4 separate regions of the Homo sapiens genome follow, and all the other regions are linked to region 3. The links are contacts of gene promoters, found by promoter capture Hi-C in blood cells and fetal thymus (Javierre and others, 2016). All regions are on one chromosome and are shown on one strand. Each heading gives the region's core, a stretch centred on a gene start or on the middle of the fragment in contact. The rest is flanking DNA. Distances are from core to core; before and after follow the strand shown. Region 1 has its middle 86 kb from the start of LINC02957. Region 2 holds the start of LOC105376143 (a long non-coding RNA gene). Region 3 holds the start of ROR2 (receptor tyrosine kinase like orphan receptor 2). Region 4 overlaps LOC105379829 (a long non-coding RNA gene).

The links. The method cuts DNA at HindIII sites, captures the fragments that hold promoters and counts their contacts. A CHiCAGO score of 5 or more calls a contact.
Region 1: a fragment that was not itself captured here is called in contact with the fragment with the promoter of ROR2 in region 3 in 3 of 17 cell types (M0 macrophages, monocytes and M1 macrophages); the score reaches 11.2 in M0 macrophages.
Region 2: a fragment that was not itself captured here is called in contact with the fragment with the promoter of ROR2 in region 3 in 6 of 17 cell types (M1 macrophages, M0 macrophages, monocytes and 3 more); the score reaches 11.9 in M1 macrophages.
Region 4: a fragment that was not itself captured here is called in contact with the fragment with the promoter of ROR2 in region 3 in 2 of 17 cell types (M2 macrophages and M0 macrophages); the score reaches 5.7 in M2 macrophages.

The regions. Positions count from the first base shown.
Region 1 is chr9:90,909,981-90,912,680 of GRCh38, reverse strand. No RefSeq gene overlaps it. Among named protein-coding and RNA genes, the nearest start is that of LINC02957, 86 kb to the left of the region's middle. The HindIII fragment of the contact is 2,529 bases long and covers 174-2,700 here.
Region 2 is chr9:90,931,095-90,933,794 of GRCh38, reverse strand. LOC105379829 (a long non-coding RNA gene) reads left to right here. Exons shown (of 4, transcript XR_001746828.2): 3 at 1,739-2,700. It overlaps LOC105376143 (a long non-coding RNA gene), which reads right to left and starts at 844. Exons shown (of 3, transcript XR_001746829.2): 1 at 756-844; 2 at 522-625. The HindIII fragment of the contact is 3,910 bases long and covers 1-2,700 here.
Region 3 is chr9:91,948,895-91,951,594 of GRCh38, reverse strand. It overlaps ROR2 (receptor tyrosine kinase like orphan receptor 2), which reads left to right and starts at 1,367. Exons shown (of 9, transcript NM_004560.4): 1 at 1,367-1,728. The coding sequence starts at 1,632. RefSeq lists silencers at 794-1,088, 1,202-1,381 and enhancers at 1,575-2,074, 2,075-2,576. The HindIII fragment of the contact is 6,243 bases long and covers 1-2,700 here.
Region 4 is chr9:90,947,261-90,949,960 of GRCh38, reverse strand. The region is part of intron 1 of LOC105379829 (a long non-coding RNA gene); the gene reads left to right. Among named protein-coding and RNA genes, the nearest start is that of LINC02957, 48 kb to the left of the region's middle. The HindIII fragment of the contact is 4,284 bases long and covers 1-2,700 here.

The DNA of each region.
Region 1 (2,700 bases), core at 189-2,688, 1.0 Mb after region 3:
AACGCACAGCACACAGCACAAAATGGGTGAGCGTCCAGCTCCCCCCACAGAGCTGGAAGCAGCTTGTGGCAGCTGGTCCTGGGAAGCTGGCTCTGGGAGGCAGTGGAGATCAGGGGTTCATCCAGGACAGCCCCTGGCGTCCATGCCTGCCACAGCAGAAGTGAACAGAAGCTTTGGATACCCTCACAGGGGCTCTGGAGCTAATGTGATCCAGCAGAGTTGCCCCAGGTGGCCCAAGATGTGCACAGCTGTACACACCTGCACAGCCCCATCTCCAGCAGAAGCACCCCCATCAACCCCGGCCTCTGGCAGGAGGTCCAGCCTATGACGTAATGCTACAAGGTGGTTTAACATCTCACCAGAAGAATTCAGGGCCCTAATGAGCAGACCCCCCCTCAGGCTCTGGGAGAACCCAGGAACGTTTTCGGCTCAGTCCTGAGTGCTCCTCCCAGTGGCCCTGCCTCATGGCTATGGGAGGGTTATTGTACAGCTAAAAGCACTCAGGCTGGGGGCCCTCTTCTGCCTCTTCCTAGGATGTATGATCACATGAATATATATTTGGTGCTTGTGACCTGGGCTGGTGGCCAGAGGGACGGCGCTGGAGCGGGAGACGTGGTGCCACGCTGGGCTCCCCTCAGCTTCAGGCTCTGGTCAGACTTCTTCTGGTGAGATGTTAAACCAACTTGCAGCATCACGTCATAGGCTGGACCTCCTGCCAGAGGCCAGGGTTGACAGGGGTGCTTCTGCTGGAGGTGGGGCTCTATATATTTGAGAATAAGTGAGGCATTTTGGCCACAGGCCGTTGAGCCGCAACCTCTCTCCTGCAGCTTCCTGAGTGGTGGTATATTCACATTTGTCTATTCTTACAAATGGCCCCAGACTGGAGGAGGTGCAGGCCCCACAGAACTGGAGTGCTTACCACCTGAACCCCTGGAAGTGTCTCCCTCCTGAAGGCCCTGGGTCTCAAACCAGCTGCTCATTTGACTTGCCCAGGGGCTTTAGACAGCTGCCAGGCCACAGCCCAGAACCAGGAGCCAGCCTCATGGACTTTCACAGGTGAGTGCCCAGTGCCTGTAGTCAGGTAGGGCCCCATCTACATCACCCAAGAGCTGAGAGAAATGCAGCCCCCCAGCCTCCACTGTTGCAGGACCTTTCCTTAGTTCAGCTAAAGACTGGGTCCTTGTCTGTCCCACGGCCATGAAAATTTAGGCTTGCAGGCAGTTGGAGAGGGTGAGTAAAGCAGGGTTTTACTGGATAAAAAAGAAGAAAAGGGGGAAATGAGGACTCTTGCGAGGCCAGAGTCCCTGCTAGAGGGCTTCCTGCTGCCATTCAAATCTCAGGTTCTGCACACGAAGAGGAAGGGCCAGGCTCCTCCCAGCTGCAAACATCATGAACTTCCTGAGGCTCCACCTCAGTGGACAGGCTGGTAGGAGTTTCTCGAGGGACCCCCTCCAACCTGGCTGACTCATTATGACCCACTGAGGCAGAATCTGCTTTTCAATAAGATTCCAATAATTGTCAGGTACAGGGAGGTGTGAACTGTGAGCCCTGGAGTCCTTCGCCCCCTTTCCGGAGTCTCCCTGTGCACTTACCTCAGGGGCCCGGGGAGGTGGGGGCATGGCTAGCATGGTGGGGCAGCCGACCTGGGGCTTCCTGTCAATACCTGGATTCACTTTCTGGTGGTGGGGACTGGGCGGCTTAAGCTACAGAAGTTGATTGTCTCACAGTTTGGAAGTTGGGAGTTTCTTCTGAGGCCTCTCTTCTTGGCCTGCAGATCGTGTCTTCATGTCTCCCAGTGTGTATGCCTATGCAGGTTTCCCCATCTTCTAAGGACACAGAGTCCTACTAAATTAGAGACCACCTTATGGCCTTGTTTTAACTTGATCTAAGATAAGTTATAGGTCTGCAAAGACCCTATTTCCAAATAAGGCCACATCCACAGATACTGGGGTTAGGACTTCAACATCTTTCCAGGGCACACGATTCAACACCACTTTACCCAGAATGACTCAGGGTGGGCGGGCCTGTGCATCCCCTCCTCCTGATGTGCAGGGGCCACCCAAGGCCAAGACCAATGAAGCCAGTCCCCTGGAAGGCCCCAGCCTCATTCCTGCTCCCCCTAGGTCTTCAGAAGGCATCTTCACCAACTTGCTGCACAGCCCCAGGGTCCAGCTCTGAGGGAACCAACCACACTCAGTCACCTAGAATCCTCTCTGAGCTAGGAGTGAGGCCTTAATCTGGGTCCACTGGGGGTATGCCATTCACAGGCACTTGAGATGAAGCAGTGCACAGAAGGACAGGGTCCATCCGCACAGTGATATGAGATGAATTATGTCTGCCCCCAACTCCCTGCCAAAAACATATGTTACAGTCCCAACTCCCAGAACCTCAGAATGTGAACTTTGCTGATGTAATTTGCTAAGATAAGGTCATACAGGAGTAGGACTGCAGGAGGACACAGGAGAAAGGCCTTTGCAAGTCAAGAAGAGAGGCCTCGGAAGGAATCAATCCTGCCAACACTTTGATCTCAGACTTCCAGCCTCCAGAGCTGAGACCATGAATGTCTGCTGTTTGCACTGCTTTGTCTTGGCAGCCCTATCAGACTACTACTGGCGGAGAAGCTGACAGGGAGGACTAGGTGTCACTGGATTCAGGGGATGCTGGAGACATGGGACCGGCATGCAAAACAAGACCTTGAAG
Region 2 (2,700 bases), core at 124-2,623, 1.0 Mb after region 3:
GCCCCTGTGGTTCTAGCAATACAAGAATGACTGCTTGAGAATCTCTAGCCTGGCATCTCCAGGCCCCTGGCTTTCTTCTGTGCTGGAGACAATAGTGCTCCATAGGACACTCCTTTGTGGCTGGCACCCACATCCGCCTCCTGCTGGAGCAATGCTACTGAAGTCTCTAGCTGAGCCCTCCCCAGGGCCTGCCCTCAGCCAGGTTCTACCCCATCCTTGAGCTGCCCCCATCCAATGGCTGGTTTAGGAGGTGCACGAAGGTCTAGCCTGGTGCATTAGGACAAGCCTGAAGTGCCCCCAGCTGAGCCTTTCCTTGGGCCTCCACAGCTCAAATTCTCCTGCTACCCAGTCCTGTCTCCTTACTCCCTATGGGCATTGACCCTCGGGGCACCCCCAGTCTACTGCCTATGCACAAGTCAGAGGCTGTTCCTGGGAACTCTGTTATGACACATCCCTCCTCCCCAAACCCACACCTTGCGTGGATTTGGCCTTCTGGCCAGTGCCCTCTTCCCCAAATGCACCTGTAAGTCCCCATCTTGGTCCCTGTAGCAATCAGTGCTGTGCATTAAGTATGTCCTTCTGGGCTTGTGGGAGGCTTCTGTTCCTGGCCCCTGTGTCTGATAAGCTGGGGAAACATATGACACGTGTCAGTTCCAAGGGAACTGTTGGTTACAGCAGCACCATACTGAACATCTGACTGATAAAGCTCCTTTGGGTTAGAACCTCCCTCTCTGCATTTTTCTGGCCATTTTTACCTTCCAAATTCTGGACAAAATGCAGCCCTCTCTGTAGACCTCCAAATCCAGTAGGGATCCAGTGTTCGTCTTTGTTCTCTTGAAGTCCGTCTTCCCCAGGAGACTGACAATGTCTTCAGGACAGGAAGTGCATCTTAGTGACCCTCCATCCCTCACAAGGCCTTGGTCTGAGTAGAGAGGTAATGCTTGCTGAGAAGACAGGGGACTCATGAGGACCTGAGTGAGGTGCCCAGGATAGATGATGAATAGGCACGTGCGAAATAAGTTTGCCAACAGGAGAGCCATTCCTGACACCGGTGCTAAATGTCACACATCACGTTCCTTTCATCAGCCATAGAGCAAAATCCATGGACTCTCACTTATCCACTGAACACCCCACATTCTTAGACAAAAGAATGATTTAAGTGGGTCTGCAGTATTCTGTAACATATTGTTCTCGGCACCACATGCTTAATACTGATATCAGGTGTTTGCTCCCAGTTACTTCTGCAGGCTCATGTATTGAGCAAACATCAGTATCCTGGGGCCCAAATACTGCTGAAAGCAACTGAAAATATGACAGTGACTACCATTAATATCAGCCCTAATGAACTTTCCATTGTATCCAGAGTACCAATACTGTCATTTCAGCACCTCTGCATGGGTCTTAAAGGGCAGATCTACTATCCCTGCCCTCTGCAGAGGTTCAGGGAGGCTGACTGCCTGTAGGCGAACCACAGCTGGAATGGGGTACCTGCTGGGGGATTCTCACAGAGCAGCGTTCTGCTGTGGGGTAACCGCCGTCTCCTGCCGCTCTTCTGCCTCTGCCATTACTGGTCCTGTTTTCTGACTCACTTACAATATTTCGAGGAGAACCTGAGGGTTTCCCTCTTCATTCTGTTCCTGAATTATTTCCCCCAAATTATTTCAGATTATGTATTTACTTTTAATTATCTTTATATTGATTATTTGTTCTAAAACTCTGTTATGTTGATTTATTTCAGCCTTGGTATTTTGATAACACCACTTAAGCCTCAGCTGTCTGGCCAGTTAAATGAGACAAATCATATGAAGCAAGCACATGCTGATTTGTAGGTCTGCCTTCTCACTGACCTGCTGTGGGGCAAGAATTGGGTTGCAGCCCCTGATCTGCACAGGAGTGCACAAGCAGTCTGCCACCCAGGCAGCTTCTGTGACTTCACAATCAAAGACATTTCTGAGGCTGAAGATTCTTCCTTGACCTCAGCATCCTCCTTCACAGTACCTACTGCAGGGGTGACTACTGCTGAGTACAGGAGCTGGGGGAGATCTCGCAGGCAAAGAAGAGAGACAAGTGCGGTCCCATGAGACCCGGAATGCTTATGGTCTACCCTGCAGTCAATTGACAGCAATTCTTGTTTGGAAATCAATGCATCTGCACTCTGAGTTGCACTGGATCCTGGCGGACCAGAGCTCTGCACGCTTTCTACTCTCCAGCCTGTGTGCAGAAGTTGTAATACTAAAAATGACATTCTCCAAACTCCCTTGCAGCTAGATTCTGGGCCTGATTTTATTTCATTTTGACTAGGTGCACTTACTTGCCATTTACAGGACAGAAGGGAGTGGGGGCTGCGCTTTGCCGTGTCTGCCATTTCCATTGTGAAGCACAGTGGAGAGGTCCTGGTTTTCTGCAGCAGTTTTAGCAAGAGGTCCTGATTTCTGGGCAGTGGCTCTGTGAGTGTCAAGAGCAGGGCTTGGAGCAGCCATTTTGCTCATGAGCAAGTAGCAGACACTCATAGTTCTGGGCCTCTTTTTGGTCCCTAGCTCCTAAGGCGAGGTATTCCTGAAGCATTTGGTTGTGGCTGGTTTTCCAATTTCCTAATCATAATAAAGGTGGGTGATCTGAGAGCCAGAGGAAGCCCAGCATCCTTTCTCCCCACTCCATTGTCTAACTTCTTGCTGGAAGCACCATGGGTGGAGTCATCCG
Region 3 (2,700 bases), core at 118-2,617:
GAAGAGAGGGGTGTGGAACTAAGTGCTTCAGCACCTACTCTTAAAACATTACTCTAAAAGCATCCTTAAGGATTCTAAGGGAAGCTAAAGGGAGGAAAACCCCAAAGATAAACCCCTGGCAGTCCTCTAACCACTGGGGAGAGCAGCCCCCCCGTTCAGACCCGCACCAGCCTGGGCAGAGGAACAGCCTGAGCCCGTCTAAGAAGTTTGGTAATAATTTTGCCATCCAGTTGAGGAGGGGCTAGGATCTTCTCCCATTCTCCTACTGGATTTACAGCAGCTCCTGGGAATGAGAACTGCGTGAGATATTTCCCTACACAAATTGGGTAGAGATAGCCGGACGCCTAAATACTTTTAACAGAGGTAACAAGCTAGAGCTGGCTTAGTCATTTTGTCCGCAGACCATAGCAAGAGAGTTTTTATTTCTGGCCACGTCTGAGGCCTCACGTCTGGCACCCAAGGCCAGGGCTCTCCCTAATGCCCTCCAATTAACAGAGCTTGGTACTCCAGCAAAAACACCAAACAAACTGCTGGATAATCAGTTAAAAGATCAATCTCATGGAACAAGCAACTGAGATGCTGGAGAATCCAATTCCTTCCTCTAAGAGGAAAAACAAAGACATTTGCATGTGCTGAGCAAAACCAAGAATAAGCAAGAAAACATGCTATTTGAATTCCGTTCAAAATGTCTCTAATAAGTGAAGCAAATTCTGCACATTCTGGGCCTCTGCAGAGAACAAATAGTGTTCTGCCTTTAATGGGTAAAATTATACAATTTGCTTTTAACAGTAAACCAAAAGCCGCGGTGGCTTCGGATAGCATCGCGCTCCCGAGGGCTCCCTCCACGCAGCTCGACCCCTGGCAGTTTTGAGCATTTCGGGGGACGCGCTTGTCCCCACCGACCTGGGAGGGCGCCGGTGCCAAGGCGGCCTGTTTGTTTTCCTGAACATTTCCTTTTGCAACTTTCGCTTCTCCTCTTCCTGCCTCACCGCTGGTGTCTGGGGCTGGGTGGCTCTCAGATTTGTCCCGGTGCGCAGTGCAGCCTGGAGTTACTGATTTGTGACCTAGATCCCCGGGTGTGTCGCCCCCGAAAGTCGGGGGCACCCGCTCTGGGCGCCTCTCCTGCGTGGGCAGACCCGCCGAACTCCGGCTGACGCCCCCAAGGCGCCACCTTTGTGTTCAAGCGTTCCGAGGCGCAGGCCCGAGGGCGGGCGCAGGAGGCAGGTCCGGGGCCCCAGCTGCAGCCCCAGCTCCTTGGGTCCCGCCCGCCGCCCGCGCGTTCCCCCGGCAGGGGGCGCCGGCGCAAGCCTCGCTCTGCCCATCGGGGCGGGCGAGCGGGGACCCTGCCTCCTGCGCGCTCGCCCGCGGTCCGCCCCCCGCGCTCGTCCTGGCGGCCGGCGGGACGCCCCAGCCCGCGCCAAGGAACCTCCCCAGCCAGCCCTTGCCGTGGCCGGAGCCGAGCGGCGCATCCGGGCCGGAGAAGAGGACGACGACGAGGTCCTCGAAGTGGACCCGTTTGCGAAGCGCCAGGGAGAAGGAGGAGCGGACGCATCGTAGAAAGGGGTGGTGGCGCCCGACCCCGCGCCCCGGCCCGAAGCTCTGAGGGCTTCCCGGCCCCCACTGCCTGCGGCATGGCCCGGGGCTCGGCGCTCCCGCGGCGGCCGCTGCTGTGCATCCCGGCCGTCTGGGCGGCCGCCGCGCTTCTGCTCTCAGTGTCCCGGACTTCAGGTAGGATCTGGCGTTCCGGCTTGTGCGCAGACGGTAGCTCACGGCTCGCTTGGCCAGCCCTTCCGCCGCCACTATGCTCCCGGCCGCTGCGCCGGCGCCCATGCTCCTGAACGAGGGGCGCCAGGCAGGGCCATTCGCATCTCGCCCGACGCCGCTCCCGGCCCGCACCCCGGACCCCCTCGGGCTGGTTACAATAAGCCGCGCTCTGGGGACGCCTAAGTGTTTCCAGAGTCTGGGGGCGGGCGGCGGCGGCTGGGAGCCTCTCGGTGGCGCTTCCCGAGGGTCGCGAGTGGGAGTGCGAGTGTGAATGTGAGTACCCGCCCTGGGCCCGGGACCCGAGTCCGCAGATGTGCCCCGAGGGTCCCAGGACCCGGGCTTCCTCCCCGAGGTCTTCCTCCTTCAAGGGCACACGGCCCCGAGTGTCCCCCGTCTGTCTCGGAGCGTCCCCCCACCCCCAGGGCGGCCTGATGCCTGGCAGAATCCTGGGGTGGACGTGGCCCCGGAGAAGCGGCTCTTGCGGCGGGGGTGGGGGCGCCGGCGGCTCCCGGGTCCTGACTTTCCCAGCCCGCGGGCCGCTTGATGGAAACGGGCTCTTTGGCATCCCTTTTGTTGGTCCCTGAAACCTCCTCTCCCCCACCGCTCTGGGGTGGCCGAAGTGGTGTGTGATCTGGATTGAAATGGTTTGTGACTGGGATCGCGGGTCCCTGAGCGGCTGGGGCGCGGCCGCCTTCTGGCCGCGCCGGGGGGACCCCCGGGACCTGTAGGAGGCTGGCGGCGGGAGGGGCGGGGCCCGGCTCCTAGGTGGGTTTCCTCCCGGGGCCCCACTTCCCCCGAGTCCCTGCGCGGTTTCGGCTGCTTGGATCCGGGGCGCAGAGGAACGGCGGGGAGGTTCGGAAGTGCAGCTTGGGACCTGCCTAGGTTGCCTGGAGGAGGCGGCGTTAGCTCTGGCGGTGCAGACTCCGGGAGCACCTC
Region 4 (2,700 bases), core at 103-2,602, 1.0 Mb after region 3:
GAAATGCTTATGAGGGAAAGTGGAGAAGGAAGCGTGCTCCAGAGGGTTACAAAGGAAGTAGCTGCGGGGTGATGGAAGATTTGCAATCCAGATTTTGAATGGTCCAGACACTTTCCTCCCCAGACTGCATGGCCCCCTCGTCTAAGGATGATGCCTTATTTCTGGGCTTTCTCACGTCCTGTTTGTTCAGGTGAATTTCCCAGCAGTTCCTACTGTCTTCTGTGGTTTTCATCTCAAAATACCAAAATACCAAGACAGGGATTTCTAGTAGTGGGGCAGGCTGAGGGGACAATGCAGCAAGGAGATTGCTCTGAGAAGTTCAGGAAAGGTGTTGAGGTCAGAGCCAGCCTTCCAGGAAGGTAACTGGAGTGCCCAGGCCCTGGGCAAGCCCATGGCACCTCAATTCTCCTCCCATTGCACATTTTTTGGAGGAGCTGTGTCCTTTAATGTTAGGTCCCTGGGACCTGAGACTTATTTTGGATCTCCCACCTCTGAGGTTTATGAGCATCACAGTGTTCATAAAAATGCCTAATCTTAGGGAAAACTTTCTAAGCAGTCATGCTGCAAATGGAGAACATGTGCTAAAACTGGTAGAGATTTGATCACTAGTAAGCTGTTGGTCAAATTGACAAACAAGGGAAAACTTTTACAGAGATACAGAAATATTTTCCAAGTTATTTTATTGCTCTATGCATTTCTGAATATATGCATTTGATTATTCCCATGTATCCGTGATGGGCTTATTTTCGTGGCCCTGATGATCCCTGATATTCACCGCCTTGTGCTGTCCTTCCCAGTGACCTTGGCTTTTGACTTGATTTGGCCAGTGGATGTCAGAAAGCATGGCCCAGGCTTGATAAGAGCATGCAGGTTGGGCTTATATTCCTGGGACACCCTCTCTTACAGTGCTGAGCCTCAGGTAAGGAAATTCAGTTACCCATCTGGGAAAATGGCCACATGGAGAGAAAGGATGTCCAGGCAGCTCCCAGCCAAGTGAAGAAGCCATCCTGGATGTTCCAACCACATCAGACACTATTACCCAGCCCAGCTGAGCTCAGCCCAGATTGCCAAGTCATGGGGAATAATCAGTTGTCATTGTTTCAATTCAGTAAATTGTAGGGCTGTTGTTTGCAATAACAATAGATAGCAAAGACAGTGCTACTTACACAAACTGAAGCAACATTACTTATCACAATATACGTATATATAACAAGAAAGAATCAAATGAATCACTGAGGAAGTTTTATAGAAAAATGAGGAGTAGAAGAAATAATAAAGCCCAAAGTAAGTTTGTCTCACAGAAGGGCTTGCAGTTGCATCCTGAATGGTTGCAGTTGCATCCAGGTAGTGCTTAGCTTTGTGTGCCGAAATCAAACCCAGAGACATGATCAGCCATGAGATCCAGCACCTAGAAGGAAATGCAGCAGCGTCTATATGTAGACACTCGTGTCGATGTTGGCATGGAGTGTAAAAAACCAGGCAGAGCCTATTCCCAAAGGCTTCACTGAATGAGGGTTGAGTGTCAATTTTCCTTTTATCTTCTCTTTATGGTGAAATATAAAATACAACCAGAAAAGTACACAGGACCAAGATAATTTATCCACAAAGTAAACCTGCATAACCAGTACTCAGGTCGAAAGGATAACTTTGCCACTCCCAGAGGACCTGCCCCGAAAGGTAACAATTATCCCAACTTTTATAGAAATCATTTCCTTGCTGTCCCTTAGCAACTGAATAGTTGACTTAGTTTTGCTGGGTTTTGATCTTTATCTTAATGAAATTGTGCAGCAAGCGTTCTGGTGTATCTGGCTTGCTATGATGTTTAGCTGTAGATCATTCTTGTGTAGTTCCATACCTAGGAATACATCTTTATTATTGATTTGCATTTGGATCATTTTCAATTAGGGGCTGTAGAAAGCACTGCTGCCACAAGAATTGTATTTACCTCTTGGTGTACTTGTCCATGCAATGCTGTTCGGAACCGACATACCCAGAGGTAAATGTGCTGGGTCCTCCATTCTTCATGACCTTGGTTTTAATAATTTACACCAAGCAGTCTTTCCAAGTGGTTGTACTGACTTAAACCCTTTCCAGGGTGGTAGGGCTCTATAACTTTACACCTCAACCAAAGCCTTGGTGCTGCCAGGCTTTTTTGTGTTGGCCATTCTGATGCATGGGGCATGGTGATTTTCATTTAATTTTCCTTGATTACCTATTCATATCTTTATTGGTCATTTGAAGTCTCTTGTTTCATTTTCTACATGGTTGTCATTATCTTAATAATTTGCAGAAATCTTCTTCAAGTTAAACACACTACAAATATCTCCTCCCACTTTGCTGCTTACGTTTTTCTTTCTTCCTGGTGTCTTCAATGACTAGGGGGTCTTAGAATTATTGTAGAATAATTTATCAAGTTTTTCCTTGTATGGGTCATGCATTTTACTGCTTGTTTAATTAGTCTTTCTCTAGCCAATGTTCAAGAAGATATTCTTTTACATTTTTATTCAAAAGATGTGTTCTGACTTTCATATTTAGACCTGCAAATGTGTGTGTGTGGTATAAGGTAGCAATTTTCTCTTATTTCCATATGGATCTGAAGCAAAGCCACTACCACTTATTGAGAAGATTTTTCTTTCACGACTGCATGGCCATCTGCCTTGGACATAAATAAAGTATCCCTCTCTACCACACTTCTCCTTG